6 separate regions of the Homo sapiens genome follow, and all the other regions are linked to region 3. The links are contacts of gene promoters, found by promoter capture Hi-C in blood cells and fetal thymus (Javierre and others, 2016). All regions are on one chromosome and are shown on one strand. The core of a region is centred on a gene start or on the middle of the fragment in contact, and the rest is flanking DNA. Distances in the headings are between cores, read along the strand shown.

Region 1 (2,910 bases), core at 283-2,782, 170 kb before region 3:
TTTGTTAGAGTCTGTTTACTAGAAGAGTCTTCATGGTTAAATTAAATATTATCTGACATTAAGATTAATTAAAAAGATGTTATAAAAACTACTGCAATAGTTACAATTAGAAAGCACCACGGGCTAAGTACTATCATAAGCTATGTGCAGCAGTGTAACAACAGAATAGAATACAATCTAAAATTAGAATACATGTACAGGGTAAAATCAGTGGGGAAAAGGTGATTAGGACTAACTGAAAATCTTCCACAGAACTATTTTCAAGAGATGAGAAAGGGAAGAAAGTTAAACTCTTCCTTTTCTTAGAAAAACTGTACGATGACTGTGGCTTACAACTGCAGAGATGGGTTGTCATGGAAAAGATAAGTCTCCTTTCTCCATTAAGAAGTTCAGTTACTTTATTTCCATGAGTCTGAAGGCATCGACCAAAAAATTTATCTCAAATGATTAAAAACCCATTGTAACCTGTGGTAAAGCAAATCCAGAGAGATCTGTTTCATATCTCCTGATACTCTGAACTAAACATATTGCTAGGAGAAACATGTTTCCACTTCCACCACATTCATAACTATGCCTTGACCAAGATGGAGACAGAGCGTCCGTAAGATAACTTTTTAGTAAAGGTTAATAAAGGAGAATTGGTGCATTGTTGTTGTTGTTGTTTTTTGTTTTGTTAGTTTGTTTTTTTCCCCTAGAGGGGCCTGATTTTAAGATTACCAAACCGAAGGGAGAGATATTAACTCTCATGGAACAACGCTATGGCATCGATCCTATTTAAGCACTTAAAATTGAGATATTGACAATTTCCATTATAGGCCACCCAGATGAAGAGAGGCAAACTCAAAGGCCTCTGGGGGCCATGCAAGTTAACATAAATAAATGATCGGGGCTAAACAAACTTTATGGATACCTGCCTTACCACTTCCTCCCATAAGCGTGACATCACTATTCCATTTCAGGTAATAGGTGCCAGGAAGAAATTAGACACATGTTGCCAGGTCCTGATTTTTTCTTTAGAAGTAGAAAACTGAAATGTTACATGAAGTATTCTATATTTTAAGTGTTGGCAATTAATTCTAATTAAAACAAGAACAAACAACACTGCTCAGGTAAAACAGAACAAGCCTGTGAGCAGAATTTATTTCGAGGTCTACCTCTGAGTCCTATGATGAAGATTCTGGGGAAAAAATGTATTGATGGATTTTAAGCAAAAAGTAGGCAATTTTTCTTACTCTTTTCCAACTTCCTAATATTCTTTCTTGAGAAAAAGTTGGTTAAGCAGATAGCTTAAAGATAATAATATATACTTTTAATGTAAAAATTTCCAGTGGCAACATTCTGTTCCAGCAATTACAGAAACCTTTCATAATCAGAGGTTTCTTTTAACCAAAGTAATCTTATCAGTCCATGTAACACCATATTCAGGTGTAATAATTAAAATATTTAAAAACTGACAAGGCACAGACACTACACTAATGACTGGCTTCCCTTGGCTTTGGAGGGCCCGGGGAAGCACATCTTGGAAAAGTGATATGGAAATATTTCAGTATTTTTAATAACTAGTAGAGCTCTTTGGATATATTACAGCAGAACATGAGCCCTGATGGTATCGGAGCCTCAATTTAATCTCAGCTTTAAGGCCTATGCCTTAGGACTGAGAAAGCTCAAACAATCTAATAATGATGTATATACCTGCTTGACCCATTTGTCTATAAGGTCCTCTAATTTAACAATCTGGTAAGAATGCTTTCTAATGAGATAATAAAGTATAACTAACTTTTAAAAATAGCAGGAAAGAACTAATGGAATTACTTAAATTTCTTTTATTTATTTTTAATTATTTTCTTTTTGAGATACGATCTCACTCTATTGCCCAGGCTGGAGTACAGTGGTACAATCATAGCTCACCACAGTCTTGACCTCCCAAGGCTTAGGTGATCCCCCTGCCTCAGCCCCCGAGTAACTAGGACTACAGGTGCACACCATCACGCTTGGCTAATTTTTGTATTTTTAGTAGAGATGGGGTTTCGCGATGGTGCCCAGGCTGGTCTCAAATTCCTGGGGCTCAAATGATTCACCCACTTTGGCCTCCCAAAGTGCTGGAAATACAGGTGTGAGCCACTGTGCCTGGCCTTAAATTTCTAAATTAGAGAAATTTAAATTCAGAAGAAGTTTTAAAATTCTCACTATAATAAAAGGCCTAAGCCTTTCAGGGTTCTACTGAGGGCTTTGCTTAAGTTAAAAAGAAAAAAATTCCTTCCTAGACAATATATGGGAGCCCCTTCAGGCTGACCTGGCCTGCTAGACCAGGAACTGATTGACAGTTCTTTGGTAAGGAGGCAGAGAAGCAGAACTCTCAAATCTAGCGTTCTCCCTCTTGTCCTATTATTTCTGCTTAGTATTCTATTTTCTGGGCCTCTACCATGATTCATAGGGCAGTTTTCTGGCCCCCTCTATGAACTGGTTATTGAACTTCCCTTAACGCTGATGTCCTATGTCCTAATTCTCTACTCCTTACCACTTCTAACCTTACACACACACACACACACACACACACACACACACACACACACAGAGAGAGAGAGAGAGAATGCATGGAGTCAGAGTCAATCTAAGAAAGGACACCCATGAAGGTGAGAACTGAGGATGCAGTGTGGCGGTCACACGGGTGAGGAGTCACCCTTCTGCAATAATTAGCCTGTAGGACATTAAAGAGAGGCTCGCAACCTCTTAGGGACTCTATCACCCCAACTAGAGTAGGTGATCTATCCAGTAGATCTTTTTCAGTTCCAAGATTCTACTGCCTTAAGAAGGTCTATCGTGCAGAGAGTCTAGAATACATCTTTCTAATTGATACAGACAATTCAATGTCATTCCACAGCATGGACAGGATATTGCCAAGTTTGTTGT
Region 2 (3,010 bases), core at 89-2,588, 240 kb before region 3:
CTAAGACTTTTTGTGCCAAAACCCAACCATACCTGGATTCATTTGGTCACAGACCTGATCTGAAATGATTTGAGGCTACTTGTAGTCTCTATGTAATTTAGTATAGTCACACATTTCACTGCAGATATACACATTTACTTGATTACAAGTTGTTACCTAGACCCTGCTGATTGAGTTCCATACTATATATTATATGCAATATATTACCTAACTAAAATCCAAAAAGTTCTAAATTCATACATATACGTGAATTAAATAATCCATGTAAAACACTTAGTATAGTGTCTGGAACAGAGTAACCCCTCAATATAATATAGGGGTAATACTAGCCTGGCACAGTGGCTCACACCTGTAATCCCAGCACTTCGGGAGACTGAGGTGGGCGTTCGAGACCAGCCTGGCCAACATGGTAAAACCCCATCTCTTCTAAAAATACAAAAAGTAGCCGGGCATGGTGGCAGGCACCTGTAATCCCAGCTACTTGGGAGGCTGAGGCATGAAAATCGCTTGAACCCAGGAGGCGGAGGTTGCAGTGAGCCGAGACTGCACCACTGCACTCCAGCCTGGGCAACAGAGCAAGACCCTGTCTCAAAATAATAATAATAATAATAATAATAATAATAATAATATAGAGATAATACTATCACTATTACTAGTACTACTACCTCCACAACTACTATTATCATTACTATTATTATAAATTGTAGGAGTAGCCAATAAAGTGACTAAACACAAATTAAAAGGAATTAATAACAATAGAGATTTAAAGGACTTGTGCAGTATCTGTAGGTGAGTCAAGCTTCCCTAGAGTCTACAGGGAAGTGGCATTGGTGATTCAACAGAGATACCCAGGAGGAGATGGTGAAACAAAGCTGACTGCCTGTCAGGAAACTTGCCCCTGCCCTCACTCTTGGGTGGGGATTCTCCTTGCATTGCTCCATTTAGAAAACCTGAAAGGATTCGAAGACGCGGCATGCTTCCTGATAGACCACAGTCAGGAAAAGATTGTTATCATCCAAAAGGCATTTACTTTTCAGGGAAAGTGAGAAAGAAAGAGAGGAGAGGATAAATAAATACATGGAGAAAAAATAGAGAAGGGAAAGAGAGAAGAACCCAAGAGAACAATCGCTTTTCCTCCTCCTTTTTCTTGGGCAGTCAATGCCTGCCTCGCACCTGTAGTGACTCCAACTGCTGCTTCAGGAGTAAAATCAGTCCTCAGGAGTAAAATCAGTTGACTGCACAAACTCTGAAGGGGTGGTAGCTGAGGACAACAGGTGGAGAATGACTACCTGGAATAGTCACCTCCCCGCACTTTGGGACAAACCCCCAAGGCTGACAGATGGCACTTAGAGAAGGGGCTCTTCCTCCTTTATTCTCTAGTAGAGCATATCACAGACAATGGGACAAGAATCAAATTGATAACAATATTGTCAACATGAACACTGGAAGTAACATATATGTAATACACAAATACATATTTATTGCTGTACTATAAAGGGGAATACATCCCAGTCCTTTTTAAAGGTTAGCATAACTTTGTTACCAAACCAGGAAAAGACATTATCAGAGTAAAAAGCTATAGGCTCATTTTACTCATAAATGTAGATTCAAGAATCCTTAAAAAAAAAGGAAATTAAATTCAACAATGCACAGGGAAGGTGATACCCTTGCCCAATTGGGTTTATCTCAGGCATCCATATGTTAGTTTAATATCAGAAAAACTATAGATATAATTCACCATAATAGCAGATTAAGAAAAGAGAAGATTTGTGATGATCTCAAGTTTATGCTGATAAAATCCAATATAAATTCATAATACAAACTTTTAACAAATCAAAAATATAGCCAGTTTCCTTAACCTCATAAAAATGTCTATAAAAAGCTTTTAAGCAAACATCATTCTGTATGGGAAAACACCAGAAATATCTTCTTTAAAGCAAAAATGAAACGAGATGTTCACTCTTACCACTCCTCAATAGCAATAAAAAATTAGAATCATAAAGATAAACCATTTTATTTATAGACGGCATTATTATTTACACAGAACAAATAAGATAATTTATAGGCCAGGTATGGTGGCTCACTCCTGTAACCCTAATACTTCAAGAGTATCACTTGAGACCTGGAGGTGGATCCAGGTGGATCAAGGAGGATCACTTGAGTCCTGGAGTTTGAGACAAACCTGGGAAACATAGCAAGACCTCGTCTCTACAAAAAACTTAAAAATTAACCAAATGCGATGGTTCACGCCTGTAGTCCCAACTACTGGGGAGGTTGAGGTAGGAGGATCTCTTGAGCCCAGGAGTTTGAGGCTACAATGAGCTATGATGGTGCCACTGCACTCCAGCCTGGGCAACAGAGCAAGACTCCATCCTACCCTTACTCCCCTCCCCCACCAAAAAAAAAAGAATTTACAGGTGATATATTCGAAATAGGAAAGGTTAGCAAATTAGCAAGACAGTTGCATTTCCAAACACCAGCAACAAACAACTAGAGATTGAAATTAGAAAGAAGACCTCATTTGTAATACTTCAGAGACTATTAGGAGCCTAGAAAAAAATTCTAGCAAAACATACATAAAACATATACAGGGAATTTTTTAAATTTATTTTTTAGAGACAGGGTCTCTGTCACCCAGGCTGGAGTGGTGTGGCACTATCACAGCTCACTGCAGTCTTGAATAAAGCAACCAAAATGAATGAAATATAGCAACATGCAACAATATGGATGAATCTTACCAATATGAAGTTAAAAAAGTCTCAGCATATTTACATAAAGCATACTATCCTTTTCATAAAATGGAAAAGTATGTTTTTTAGAAATTCATATAGTTGAGTGAAGAAACTGCATAGAAAGAAAGCAACAGATTGATGAATGCTGGTCTTTGGATTGTAGTACCTCAGGAAGGCAAGAAAAGAGAAGAGGAAAGAACATAAGTAAATGTAAGATATTGTCAAAGTCTTAGTGTTTATAATGAGAGATGGATTCATGGTTGCTTATTATATAATAA
Region 3 (2,802 bases), core at 113-2,612:
ACCTCAGGTATCTTGGCTGAAGGGATTAAATCATTAGACTTTACGTACCCAACCTCTTCCTAGCAATAGCAGATACATAATTTGCAAATACTGTTTCAGAGCTCTCTGGACCTTTCACGTTAAAATAAGCATACTTGATGGTGGGGAGACAGTGATTCTTACATTTAGGAAACAAATGCTTCCGATTGTGACCGTATGGAAGTGGAAAACAGCTTGCAATTGGAGAGTCTAAGAATTGAATTTCTTTTTAAAGTAAGAAACTGCCTCACTGCCCCCATCCCCAAGTGTAGGAAGATATAGAAACAGCTTACTGGCCAAGAATAGAAGAGGGAACCAGTGGAGAGGGACGGATTTGCAAGATAGCCTCTGGAGAAAAAAAAATCACGAGGGAGAAAAATCGGCTTCATACTATGGAGAGATGGGCGGGGTTGGGAAGCCTTGCTGCTGGTCTTGGGAAGCCTTGCTGCTGGTCTTGGGGACGTGATCCCCTGTCCCTAAGTGTGCCCCTGGAGGTTGTGGGGGAGGGGTATCCTCAACACAGAGGCCTGACCACCAAATCCCGGGCTGCAGAGCCAACAATCCTCCTTTGGGCTCCTGCACAGACTAAAAACAAAAAACTCTGAGAACTCCGACAAGTCAACGAAAGTCTGATCCCGTCAAGCCCGCACTCGCAAACCCCCACCGTGCTGCACTGGGCCCCGGCCCTCCCGAGCTCGGTCCCCTCGGACGACGGTCGTCGCCACTGCGGGCACCAGATTGGGGGGCGGGCCGCTCACCCCGCGGTCCTGCCCCACACCGACCCCGCTGAGGAGCCCCCGGCACCCGGGGCGACCAGGGAAGGCGGGAGGAGGTGCCCAGAAACTGCTCGTCCTGCCAGTCGCACCTGGCCGACGACTCTCTGGCCACTGGTTTGGTCTGGGGGATACGATTTCCCATTCAACTGAATTAGACCCGAGGCCGCGGCGGGGAGGGCAGCGGCCGGGGTCTCTCCGTTTCCTCCCCCGGCTCGCCTCCACCTGTTGCGGGAAAGTCGCGGTGGAGCGCCCGAGGGCGGCCGCAACCCCGGCCGGGGCCGAGCCGGGCTGGCCGAGCCGCGGCGGCGAAGGGCGGGGGAAGGCGCTCTCGGAGCAGGGTGCGCGGCGCGCAGGGCCGGTTGTTCCGGGCCGCGGCCGCGCGGGCGGGGAGGGGGCTGCCGGCGCCGGGTGATTTCGGTGCCAGCCCGCCGGCCCCGCTCGCCGTCCCCTGCCCGACGGGACCCCCACTATCCCCGCTGTGCGGTCACCTGTTTCGCTTCGCACTGCGCCGTCGCCGCCCCTGTGGCCGTCGCCGCCAGCTCCTAGCTCCGCCATGGTGCTCCGATGACGCGCCCGGAGAGCCGCTCCGCCCTTTCCTCGGCTTGGCTCCCGCCGGCCCCCGCCTCCCAGGCCAGCGGCCCAGACAGGTGAGCGCAGTCCGGGGATGGCGGAGGGCGGGGACAGAGAGCGCGGCAGTCGGCTGCGGCCTGGGCCTGGCGCGCCCCCTCGCGGGCAGGTGCGGCGTGGCAGCCGCTCCGACCGCCGCTGCCGAGTCTCGGCTGGAAGAGCGGCGGGCGGAACCAGTACCTCAGTCCGGAGCTTCCGGTCGCCGCGGCCGACCAGCTGAGGGCTCCCGGAGATATGGAGCGGGGTCAGCGAGGCCTGGTGGCGCCTCCTGGAGTCTGGGACGAGCGGCGGTCCGAGGAGCAGCCCAGGTGGGGCGAGGGTACGGAGACGCTATTTCCCTCCGAACTCTGAAGTAGCCAGGTCAGTGTCGGCTCCGCGAGGGCTGGAGTTCACGGTGACAGCCGGCAGAGCATCTGATGCCACGTGGAGAGGCGAAGTACATGGGTCGGATTCCACGCTGGGAGCCGGCCTGGATCTGCGCTTTAGGAAGCCACTGCGGGCGACCCTATCTTGTCGCCAGGACTTCGCATCTGATGAGCCTCAGGGCACACAAGTTAGAGAGGCTTGTGCCGGCTGATGTGGCTTTTCTTTTTCTTAGTTTCCGTTTAGTAAACGACCTTGTGACTTCTGGCTTGCTCAGGAAGACCAGAAAAAAAGGCAATAGGTAACGAATTTTTCTTTTTTTAAAGAAACAGATTATTGGCCGAGGAAAAACCAATTTCGCTCTAAAGGATAAGCAACAAAATACTGAGGGGGGAAAAAGCCTACACAAATGGAAACATACGGCACAAAATCAAGGAGCGACCAGTTCCGCATGGTTACACTAAAATGCACTGCACTCCCACTCTCTGGCTTGGCTGAAGATAACCAGCAAGCTCTGAACAGTTTAAAAGCCTTCCAAGGACTGCAGCAGCACTGGACACACAAGAGAGTCGAGAACAGTATTGGATTTATTGTTAGGGTTACAATTTTCACGATCTTTGCATGCAAAACTTGCCACTCTGAGCCCAGTGAACTATTTTTATTTGGTTTACTTACTGGCTTTCTGGATGACTAGGTAGAGCTTTAACTAAAGAACACTTCTGCTGTGGTCTGTGATGATGAATTTTCCCGTAGTGTCATTTCTATAATGGAATAGGCAAACTGACCATTTAGAATGTGATATTCCTAAATCACATTCAAATCAGTCTTATCAGAGACTTCTAATCAATAAAAATAAAGCACCAGATGGCTAGAGGTAGTTTTTGACCTCAGCTTGGGCCTCAGCAAAGATTTTTTGTGTTTTTTTTAACTACATTAAAACATCAGAGTTTAAGACACTTTTCTTTGAGCATCAGAAATACTCTCAGCTGAATTTAGAGTTGAACTATCCGGAAGAACC
Region 4 (3,017 bases), core at 241-2,740, 220 kb before region 3:
AGAGCCAACCCAGGAGTATTATGTCATATTAGATCTTATGTTGTTGTTGTTGCTGAAGTCACTTTTGATCTGGAAATGTCTGTCTTTCTTTACCTTGCATAGCTTTAACATTTTTGAAGAGTACACGCCTGTTACTTTATAAAATGCTCTTTACTTTGGGATTGTCTGATGTCTCCTTGTCATCAAATTCAGGTTATGCATTTTTGGCAGGAACACCAAAATGCCATGATTTCTCAGTGTATTGTATGAGGAGGCACACGTGTGTCTTTGTCCCATGACTAGGACTAGGGTTAACATTTATCCATTGGTTAAAATGATATTTGCCAGATTCCTCTACTTTAAAGTTAATTGATAAGTATTTTGTACTTTTTGAATAAATACTTTAAAGTTAATTGAAAAGTATTTTGTACTTTTTGAATAAATAAAGGTTAGGTATCTTGTGGAAAGGTACTGTAAGACAACATACACATGCTGTTTCTCATCAGATTTTCACTCACTCATTTGTGGAATTCATTGATGATTATTGCCTGAATCAATTATTAGTGTAATTGCAAAATGTAGTTTTAAAACTCCATCATTCTTTCTGTCTTTATTACCTGGAATTTAATTGTGAATTACATCTTTTCCTTCTTTTTAATTCATGTATTAATTTATATCAGTATGGCCTCAAAGATTGTCTTTTATTCAATGAGTCACAATCTATGACTATCAATATTATTTTGGTGCTCAATTTGTCCTAGATTTAGCCATTAGAAGGCCTTTTAGACTGGTTCCTTTGTCATTTTGGCAGGTTTTCGTAATTTTGGGGGCATAGTCTTACTTTCTGGGACATAAGATGTACCAAATCAATCTTATACTTTCCCTGCTCCCAGCCTATCATCAGCCATTTCTCCAAAGAGCCCTGGTTCCTTTAGTGGAGGATGATATTCAGTAACCAATATCTAGGCCCTAGGTATGTTCATTACGAGGGATTGTCATTGCTTCTAGGCCCTCTCAGTGGACAGAGCTTAGAGATAAATGCTTGCATACACATATGTACACACATAAATCTGTTAGAAACTGTGCATTCACATCAATACCTGCAAAGCCAGTTCAACACTATGGGGTTTATTTTAGCCTTTCCTCTTTCCATATTTGTAACTACACTGCCTGAGAATGAGAAACCTGACTCCAATTATCTCCAATATATTTGCTTATTTGTTCAGTTTCTCTGTGTTTAATTAAAACTGCCGGCTCCTTTTTTTGCAAGAATTGACTGTTAAACTAAAGCAATAATTCTCTTCACATGCAGCAGAGCACATGGATTTCAGTGAACTCATTTTGGAGGACACATCACAGATGGAGCAGTGGTTGTAAGCTTGGGCTCTGGAGGCAGACAGACCTGGGCTGTAGCCCTGGCCATGTACTCAGGAGCTGTGCAACATTCACAGAATTCTTTCCTTCTCTCGGTCTCAGAGGATAATAACCACAATAGGATTAAAGGAGCTATGCATATACAGCTACAGTGCCCAGCACATAGTAAACACAACGAATGATAGCTATTATAATTGTATCTCTATTGAATATAGGAAATTTTTTAGAACTCCCTAGGCCAGGATAAAAATTTGCAAAGGCAGTTACCACTAAGCTTCAAAATTCATCAAAGCTTAGAGATAAAATAAATCTTAACAACATTCTTATTAGTCGTATCTCCACATAAGAGAAAGAAACTGATTTACATTAAAAACCTAACTATTCAAAAGTTTTACATGCATTTTTTGGGTCTCTGTTTAATATGAAAAAAAAGTGTTAGACGTTATGTAATATTTTCCTTTTCCTTTTTTTAGGTCACAAGTATTCATCTACCTTGAGTCAAAATCGGTTGATGGATCTCCGTTTTTGTTGTTTGTTTCCTTTGTTTTGTTTTGTTTTTGAGACGGAGTCTCACTCTGGAGTGCAGTGGTGTGATCTTGGCTCTCTGAAACCTCCGACTCCCTGGTTCAAGCGATTCTCCTGCCTCAGCCTCCTGAGTAGCTGGGATTACAGGCATGTGCCACCATGCCCAGCTAATTTTTGTATTTTCAGTAGAGACGGGGTTTCACCATGTTGACCAGGATGGCCTCGATCTCCTGACCTTGTGATCCGCCCGCATCGGTTTCCCCAAGTGTTGGGATTACAGGCGTGAGCCACTGCACCTGACCGATGAATCTCCTTTTAAAGGCCTCCATGAGCTGAAAGCTATGGGGAAACAACAAAAGGTTTTGAGCAGGGTCCATGCATTAGATGGTAAGAGTTAGATCAGACTGTGTGTGGTGACTCATGCCTGTAATCCCAGCACTTTGGGAGACAGAGGCAGGAGGATTGTTTGAGGCCAGGAGTTCAAGGCTGCAGTGAGCTGATTGCAGCACTGCACTCCAGCCTGAGCAACAGAGCGAGACACCGTCTCAAAATATATTTCATAAGAAGTGGCTAGCAGCTGGATGCAGTGGCTCATGTCTGTAATCCCAGCAGTTTGGGTGGCCAACGTGGGTGAATTGCTTGAGTTCAGAAGTTTGAGAACAACTTGGGCAACATGGTGAAACTTCATCTCTACAAAAATTACAAAAAATTAGGTGTGTGTGGTGGAGCAAAGCCCGTAGTCCCAGCTACCCATGAGGCTGAGGTGGGAGGATCACCTGAGCCCAGGAGGTCAAGGCTGCAGTGAGCTGTGATTATGCACTGCACTCCAGTCTGGGTGACAGAGTGAGACCCAACATATGAGTATGTATTTGTTCAGGCTTCCAGATGTCTCTGTCCCATATTTCTGATATTCTCCCATTGATATAGAGAAAGATAGGTGGCAGAAGGGAGATAACAGGAAAACTATAATCAGGAAAACTTCCAGGTAGAACTGGGAGTTTGGGGGTGGATCTTTCTCATGTCTTGAGGATTTGAGTGGGGATCACTCATGCATGATCCTATAACAGGAAAACTCAGGAATTAGGCAGAGGAAAGCTCAAAGTCTAAGTGACACTGTTGCTTTCCTTACATGATGGCCT
Region 5 (2,795 bases), core at 33-2,532, 250 kb before region 3:
GTTATTTCATCACCAAGGTATTAAGCCTAGTACCCATTAGTTGTTTTTACTCATCCTCTTCCTCCTCCCACCCTCACCTTCCTAAAGGCCCTAGCATGTGTTCTTCCCCTCAGCGTGTCCATGTATGTGTTCTCATCATTTAGCTCCCACTTATAAGTGAGAACATGTATTTGGTTTACTGTTGCTGTGTTAGTTTGCTAGGGATAATGGCCTCCAGCTCCATCCCTGTTCCTGTAAAAGACATGATCTCATTATTTTTTTATGGCTGCATAGTATTCTGTGGTGTATATGTACCACATTTTCTTTATCCAGTTCATCACTGATGGACATTTAGGTTGATTCCATGTCTTTGCTACTGTGACTAGTGCTGCAATGAACATATGTGTGCATGTTCTCTTTATAATAGAACAATTTGTATTTATTTGGGTATATACCCAGTAATGGCATTGCTGGGTCAAATATTTCTTTTTTTTTTTTTCTTTTTTATATTCGAGATGGAGTCTCGCTCTGTTGCCCAGGCTGGAGTGCAGTGGCGCGATCTCGGCTCACTGCAATCTCTGCCTCCCAGGTTCAAATGATTCTCCTGCCTCAGCCTCCTGAGTAGCTGGGACTATAGGTGCGCACCACCACGCCTGGCTAATTTTTGTATTTTTAGTAGAGATGGGGTTTCACCATATTGGTCTTGAACTCCTGACCTCATGATCCACCCACCTCGGCCTCCCAGAGTGCTGGGATTACAGGTGTGAACCACTGTGCCCTGCCTGGGTCAAATATTTCTGTTTTTAGATCTTTGAGGAATCACCACACTGCCTTCCACAATGGCTGAACTAATTTACACTCTCACCAACAGTATATCGAATTTCTTTTTCTTCACAACCTCGCCAGCATCTGGTATTTTTTTGACTTTTTAAGAGTAGCCATTCTGACTGGTATGAGATGATATCTCATTGTGGTTTTTATTTGCTTTTCTCTAATGATCCGTGATTTTTTTTTTCTGTTTTTTTGTTTTTTTGGTTTTTTTGAGACAGAGTCTCCCACTATCGCCAGGCTGGAGTGCAGTGGCACGATCTCAGCTCACTGCAACCTCCGCTTCCCGGGTTCAAGCGATTCTCCTGCCTCAGCCCCCCGAGTAGCTGAGACTACAGGCGCGCACCACCACGCCCGGCTAATTTTTGTATTTTTAGTAGAGACTGGGTTTCCCCATGTTAGCCAGGATGGTCTTGACCTCTTGATCCACCCGCCTCGGCCTCCCAAAGTGCTGGGATTACAGGTGTGAGCCACAGCGCCCGGCCTGATACCATTATAATAATTGGAAAGATTAGAGAGAATGATAGGGAAGGGAAGAATGAAACAGATTGGGAAAAGGGAAGGAAATCAGGAATTCCATTTTGAATATATTAGGCTTGATATGTGTGTGAAACTTTTAAGTACAGAGGCAAGGTATGAAGTTAAATGTGTGCATCCGTGGTTCAGAGGTGAGTTCTAGCCAAGAGATAAAGCAAAAAGATTATATTTAGAATTATTGGATGAGGCTTGGCGCATTGGCTCACACCTGTAATCCCAACAATTTGGGATGCCAAGGCAGGAGAATGGCTTGAGCCTAGGACTTCAAGACCAGCCTGGGCAACATAGGGAGACCCCGTCTCTATTAAAAGTTTAAAAATTGGTTGGGTGTGGTGGTGCACAACTGTAGTCCCATCTACTTGGAAGGCTGAGGCAGGAGGATTTCTAGAGCCCAGGATGTTGAGACTGCAGTGAGCCATGATTGCACCACTGCACTCCAGCATGGGTGACAGAGCGAGACCCTTTCTAAAAAAAAATAAAATAAAATAAGATAAAATCACAGGATGAGAAATATAGGGAGACAAGAGAAGACAGCCTAGGAGTGAACCCTAAAGAATCCCAACATTTAGAGATTTGTTAAAAGAGGAGGCGGAGCCAATAAAGGAGACTGAGAACAGCCTATGAAGTAGGAAATAAGTGAAATCAAATGTATTGGTTGTCTACTGCTGCGTAATGAATGACCCCAAATTTACCAGCTTAATGTTTACTATCTCACAGCTCCTGTGGATCAGAAATCTGAGAGTGATTATTTGGGTGGTTCTGGCTTAGGGTCCCTTGAAGTTGCACTCCAGCCTGGGTGACATAGGGAGACTATCTCTAAAAATAAATAAATAAGTCATTTTAAAAATCTCATTTAAAAATTTATCTATCTATGTAGAAACAGAAGAATCAACCTCAAAATGATACTGTTCTGTGTATATATTGAATGGCCACATCACTGGCAATTTTTAAAACATTTTCTTCCTTTGCTCTTCTGTATTTTCTAAAATTTCTACAATAAAAATTACTTTCATAATATTAATATCAAAAAACTTTTAAAAATGTAGACCATTGAATTTTATTTGAATTGTGTAAGATAATGAAGACCTAAAAACTGAGAGGTCTTGTTTTTGTTTTTTGAGACAGAGTCTCGCTCTGTTGCCCAGGCTGGAGTGCAGTGGCACGATCTCAGCTCACTGCAACCTCCACCTCCCAGGTTCAAGCAATTCTCCTGCCTCTGCCCCCCAAGTAGCTGGAATTACAGGCATGCACCACCACGCCTGGCAAATTTTTGTATTTTTAGTAGAGACGGGGTTTCACCATGTTGGCCGGGCTGTTCTCAAATTCCTGACCTCAGGTGATTTGCCAACCTCGGCCTCCCAAAGTGCTGGGATTACAAGCGTGAGCCACCTCGCCCAGCAAGTTTGTGTGTGTGTGTGTGTGTGTGTGTGTGTGTGTGTGGTTCTTCCAAA
Region 6 (2,905 bases), core at 103-2,602, 200 kb before region 3:
ATTGTTCTTTTTGCACAAAGACTTCAGGTCAAGTGTGGGTCAAAGAGACATTGTATAAGAAAGTCACAGGCAGTTTCAACAGCAACAAAATCATTTAACAAGTTAAGATCTTTAGACTCAGTGTGAGTACTGGTTTCATCACCTAAATCGTAACTATCCATCATGTCACATTTTGAAAGGACAATAATTTATTACCCAGGTTGCCAAACCCAAATAAGAGAAAAATGGTGGGAGAACATGATGGCAGTCTTCAAATACATGAAGACCTCAGAAAGATGGAAAAAACTCAGATCTTTCTCTAGTGGGCAGCACTAGGCCGGATGGTCCAAAATTATGGGGAGACAGCCCTGTCTTTCTACAAAGCATATTCTGAGCATGCATGATGTCGGGTAATGGGTGCTGCTCTGTGCAGAGAGGCTGACAGACACCCACTGGGTGCTGCGGACTGGACTTCTGCACTGACTGAGAGAATAGGAGAGGCCTTAGAAGTTGTCCAATCCAACTCAAAATTCAATTTCTATGAGCCAGGCACAATCTCTTCCACTGTGGCTTACTTGGTCCTTTGAAGAACAAAGTGTTACCACAATCATACTGTAGAAGGCAGCAGTTCGTGTCCTCCTGGGTGTCAGATATTTCTGATGACTACAGAAGGGAGTTGGAGGCAAGCTTACCTGCAGTCTGCTGTGTCTGAACACCATCTACCTGAGGCAGGGGCCCAAGTGTCCCTTCATCATCAAAGGCCAAAATTGGATTCAAAGGAATTTCTGGGCTCTCACTGTTGGTGACATCTAATCTGGATGGTTTAGATCCAATGGGTAAGTTTATAATTTCTTCAAAATTTTCATTCTGAACAGATACACCATTTTCATTTGGTTGTTTTTCCAAATCGGGAGTGCTAAGGAATTTGAAAAATAAAAATAGAAATAAGTTAGTCTTAAAACTGGAAAACACATTATTAGGAAAACCAAAATGTTTTATAATGAATAATTTTATAAATCTACAATTAAAAAAATCAGACTGGTGAGTCACATCATTACTAACAAAAATAATAAATTGTGGTGTATTTGTACCTTAAATTCTTATTTTAAAAAATCTAGGTCAGGCACAGTGGCTCATGCCTGTAATCCTAGCGCTTTGGGAGGCCGAGATGGGAGGACTGCTCAAGGCCAGGAGTTCAAGACTAGCCTGGTAAACATAGCAAGACCCCCGTCTCTACAAAAGAAAAAAATTAGCTGTGTGTGGTGGCACGCACCAGTAGTCCAAGCTACTCTGGCAGTCGAGGTGGGAGGATCACTTGAGCTCAGGAGTTTGAGGCTTCAGTGAGCTATGATGGCACCACTGCATTCCAGCCTGGGCTATGGAGTAAGACCCTGTCTCTAAACAACAACAAAAAAATTTTAAATCTGTCATTTTGTTATGAAAATTATCAAATAGAACAATTTATCAATTACAACAGATCATCATTAATAGAAATAAATCATCATCAGCAGCAGTTCTACACATTTAATGATTTCTGCTGCAGGCATTTTTATATTCATCTGATAGAGTACCACTTATGAGGACCTTTGCCTCAAAGATGAGGGGATTATAATTTGGAGGGGGGAGTAAATGATTTGCACAAAGTCACACAACTACTGAGAGATAGTTGAGGCTAAATGCACGATCTCTTAATCTCTGGTCCTGTGTTTTTCTCATTAAGCCATTTCGCACACTTTCTAGATATTCCAGCCTCCTAAAGCCCTTGCATAATTTCATATGTAAATTTTTGAAGACCGATCTTCTTATCTTTGCCCCTTAAATCTGCCTCTGACCTCATCTTGATCCTTATGAATTCATGCTTAATATCTTGGATTTATTTTTGAGATATACTTAATTGGCCCCAAATACTTAATCTTCTATGGTTTGTCTTAGATTACCACTCTCTGTTATAGGCTTATTATTATGCTTTACAATGTAGCCAAATAATGCCTATGCATCAAATGAGTGCTAAACTAATTTTACCATTCATTTTATTTCATTGCAGCATATACATATGTGTGCAAGCTTCAAAACTTGTTCAATGCTCAACAAATTAACCTTAGTCTCAGTAATACCAACTGCTTGAACATTGTTAGCAAGTCAGTTTGTCTTCTCAAATTGTAAAACAATGCTAATGTAAATCCAACCTTTCTATTGCTTTTTAACACTTTGCTTTTTTTTTGCCTGATTGAATAAATAGTTTACTTTCTTTTTCCTTTTTTGAGAAGGGTCTCACTCTGTTGCCCAGGCTGGAGTGCAGTGGTACAGTCTCAGCTCACTCCAACTTCTGCCTCCTGGGTTAAAGTGGTTCCTGAGTCTCAGCCTCCCAAATAGCTGGGACTACAGGGGCAAGCCACCATGCCTAGCTAATTTTTGTATTTTTAGTAGAGAAAGGGTTTCTTCGTGTTGGCCAGGATGGTCTCGAACTCCTGGCCTCGAGTGATCTGCCCCCATCGGCCTCCCAAAGTGCTGGGATTACAGCCATGAGCCACCACGCCCAGTCAAAATAGTTTACTTTCTCTACTGAGTGAGAAGTATTGACTTTGGAACACATACTAAAGCATTTCTGATTTGAATATTTGTGTATTTTTAAAATTATTAAACCTTCCTTTTTTACGGAAAAAATGAAGATGCCTGTCCTAAGTGTCTCACAAGGCATTGCAGAATACACTGAAAACATTATTTGTAAAATAATCTGAAATATTATACAGTGTGATGATGCTTTTCTGCTATTTTACTAAGAAGGGAAGGGAATGCCACTAGGCATTATAAGTCTCCACAAGAGTACAGTCACACACATGTGCACATGCCCCCCCCCCCAAGTCACGTGTGCACACACATGCCTAACATCTACTGTTCTAAGTGCCTGGGCTGCCACACCCATCTT

Evidence for each region. The method cuts DNA at HindIII sites, captures the fragments that hold promoters and counts their contacts. A CHiCAGO score of 5 or more calls a contact.
Region 1: a fragment that was not itself captured here is called in contact with the fragment with the promoter of MAP7 in region 3 in 3 of 17 cell types (M2 macrophages, M0 macrophages and megakaryocytes); the score reaches 11.3 in M2 macrophages.
Region 2: a contact is called between a fragment that was not itself captured here and the fragment with the promoter of MAP7 in region 3, in 4 of 17 cell types (M0 macrophages, M2 macrophages, M1 macrophages and 1 more). The highest score is 10.2, in M0 macrophages.
Region 4: a fragment that was not itself captured here is called in contact with the fragment with the promoter of MAP7 in region 3 in 3 of 17 cell types (megakaryocytes, M2 macrophages and M1 macrophages); the score reaches 6.7 in megakaryocytes.
Region 5: a fragment that was not itself captured here is called in contact with the fragment with the promoter of MAP7 in region 3 in 1 of 17 cell types (megakaryocytes); the score reaches 5.5 in megakaryocytes.
Region 6: a fragment that was not itself captured here is called in contact with the fragment with the promoter of MAP7 in region 3 in 3 of 17 cell types (megakaryocytes, M1 macrophages and M2 macrophages); the score reaches 5.4 in megakaryocytes.

Annotation. Positions count from the first base shown.
Region 1 is chr6:136,379,347-136,382,256 of GRCh38, forward strand. The region is part of intron 6 of MAP7 (microtubule associated protein 7); the gene reads right to left. Among named protein-coding and RNA genes, the nearest start is that of BCLAF1, 91 kb to the left of the region's middle. The HindIII fragment of the contact is 4,133 bases long and covers 1-2,910 here.
Region 2 is chr6:136,312,345-136,315,354 of GRCh38, forward strand. No RefSeq gene overlaps it. Among named protein-coding and RNA genes, the nearest start is that of BCLAF1, 24 kb to the left of the region's middle. The HindIII fragment of the contact is 1,083 bases long and covers 798-1,880 here.
Region 3 is chr6:136,549,060-136,551,861 of GRCh38, forward strand. MAP7 (microtubule associated protein 7) reads right to left here and starts at 1,363. Exons shown (of 18, transcript NM_003980.6): 1 at 1,283-1,363. The coding sequence starts at 1,349. It overlaps MAP7-AS1 (MAP7 antisense RNA 1), which reads right to left. Exons shown (of 1, transcript NR_186370.1): 1 at 1,664-2,802. RefSeq lists enhancers at 199-737, 1,276-1,813 and silencers at 1,035-1,084, 1,095-1,274, 1,315-1,664. The HindIII fragment of the contact is 6,247 bases long and covers 1-2,802 here.
Region 4 is chr6:136,328,543-136,331,559 of GRCh38, forward strand. No RefSeq gene overlaps it. Among named protein-coding and RNA genes, the nearest start is that of BCLAF1, 40 kb to the left of the region's middle. The HindIII fragment of the contact is 270 bases long and covers 1,356-1,625 here.
Region 5 is chr6:136,295,675-136,298,469 of GRCh38, forward strand. All of the region lies in intron 2 of LOC124901408 (a long non-coding RNA gene), which reads left to right. Among named protein-coding and RNA genes, the nearest start is that of BCLAF1, 7.2 kb to the left of the region's middle. The HindIII fragment of the contact is 4,373 bases long and covers 1-2,795 here.
Region 6 is chr6:136,345,185-136,348,089 of GRCh38, forward strand. MAP7 (microtubule associated protein 7) reads right to left here. Exons shown (of 18, transcript NM_003980.6): 17 at 672-895. Among named protein-coding and RNA genes, the nearest start is that of BCLAF1, 57 kb to the left of the region's middle. The HindIII fragment of the contact is 1,377 bases long and covers 665-2,041 here.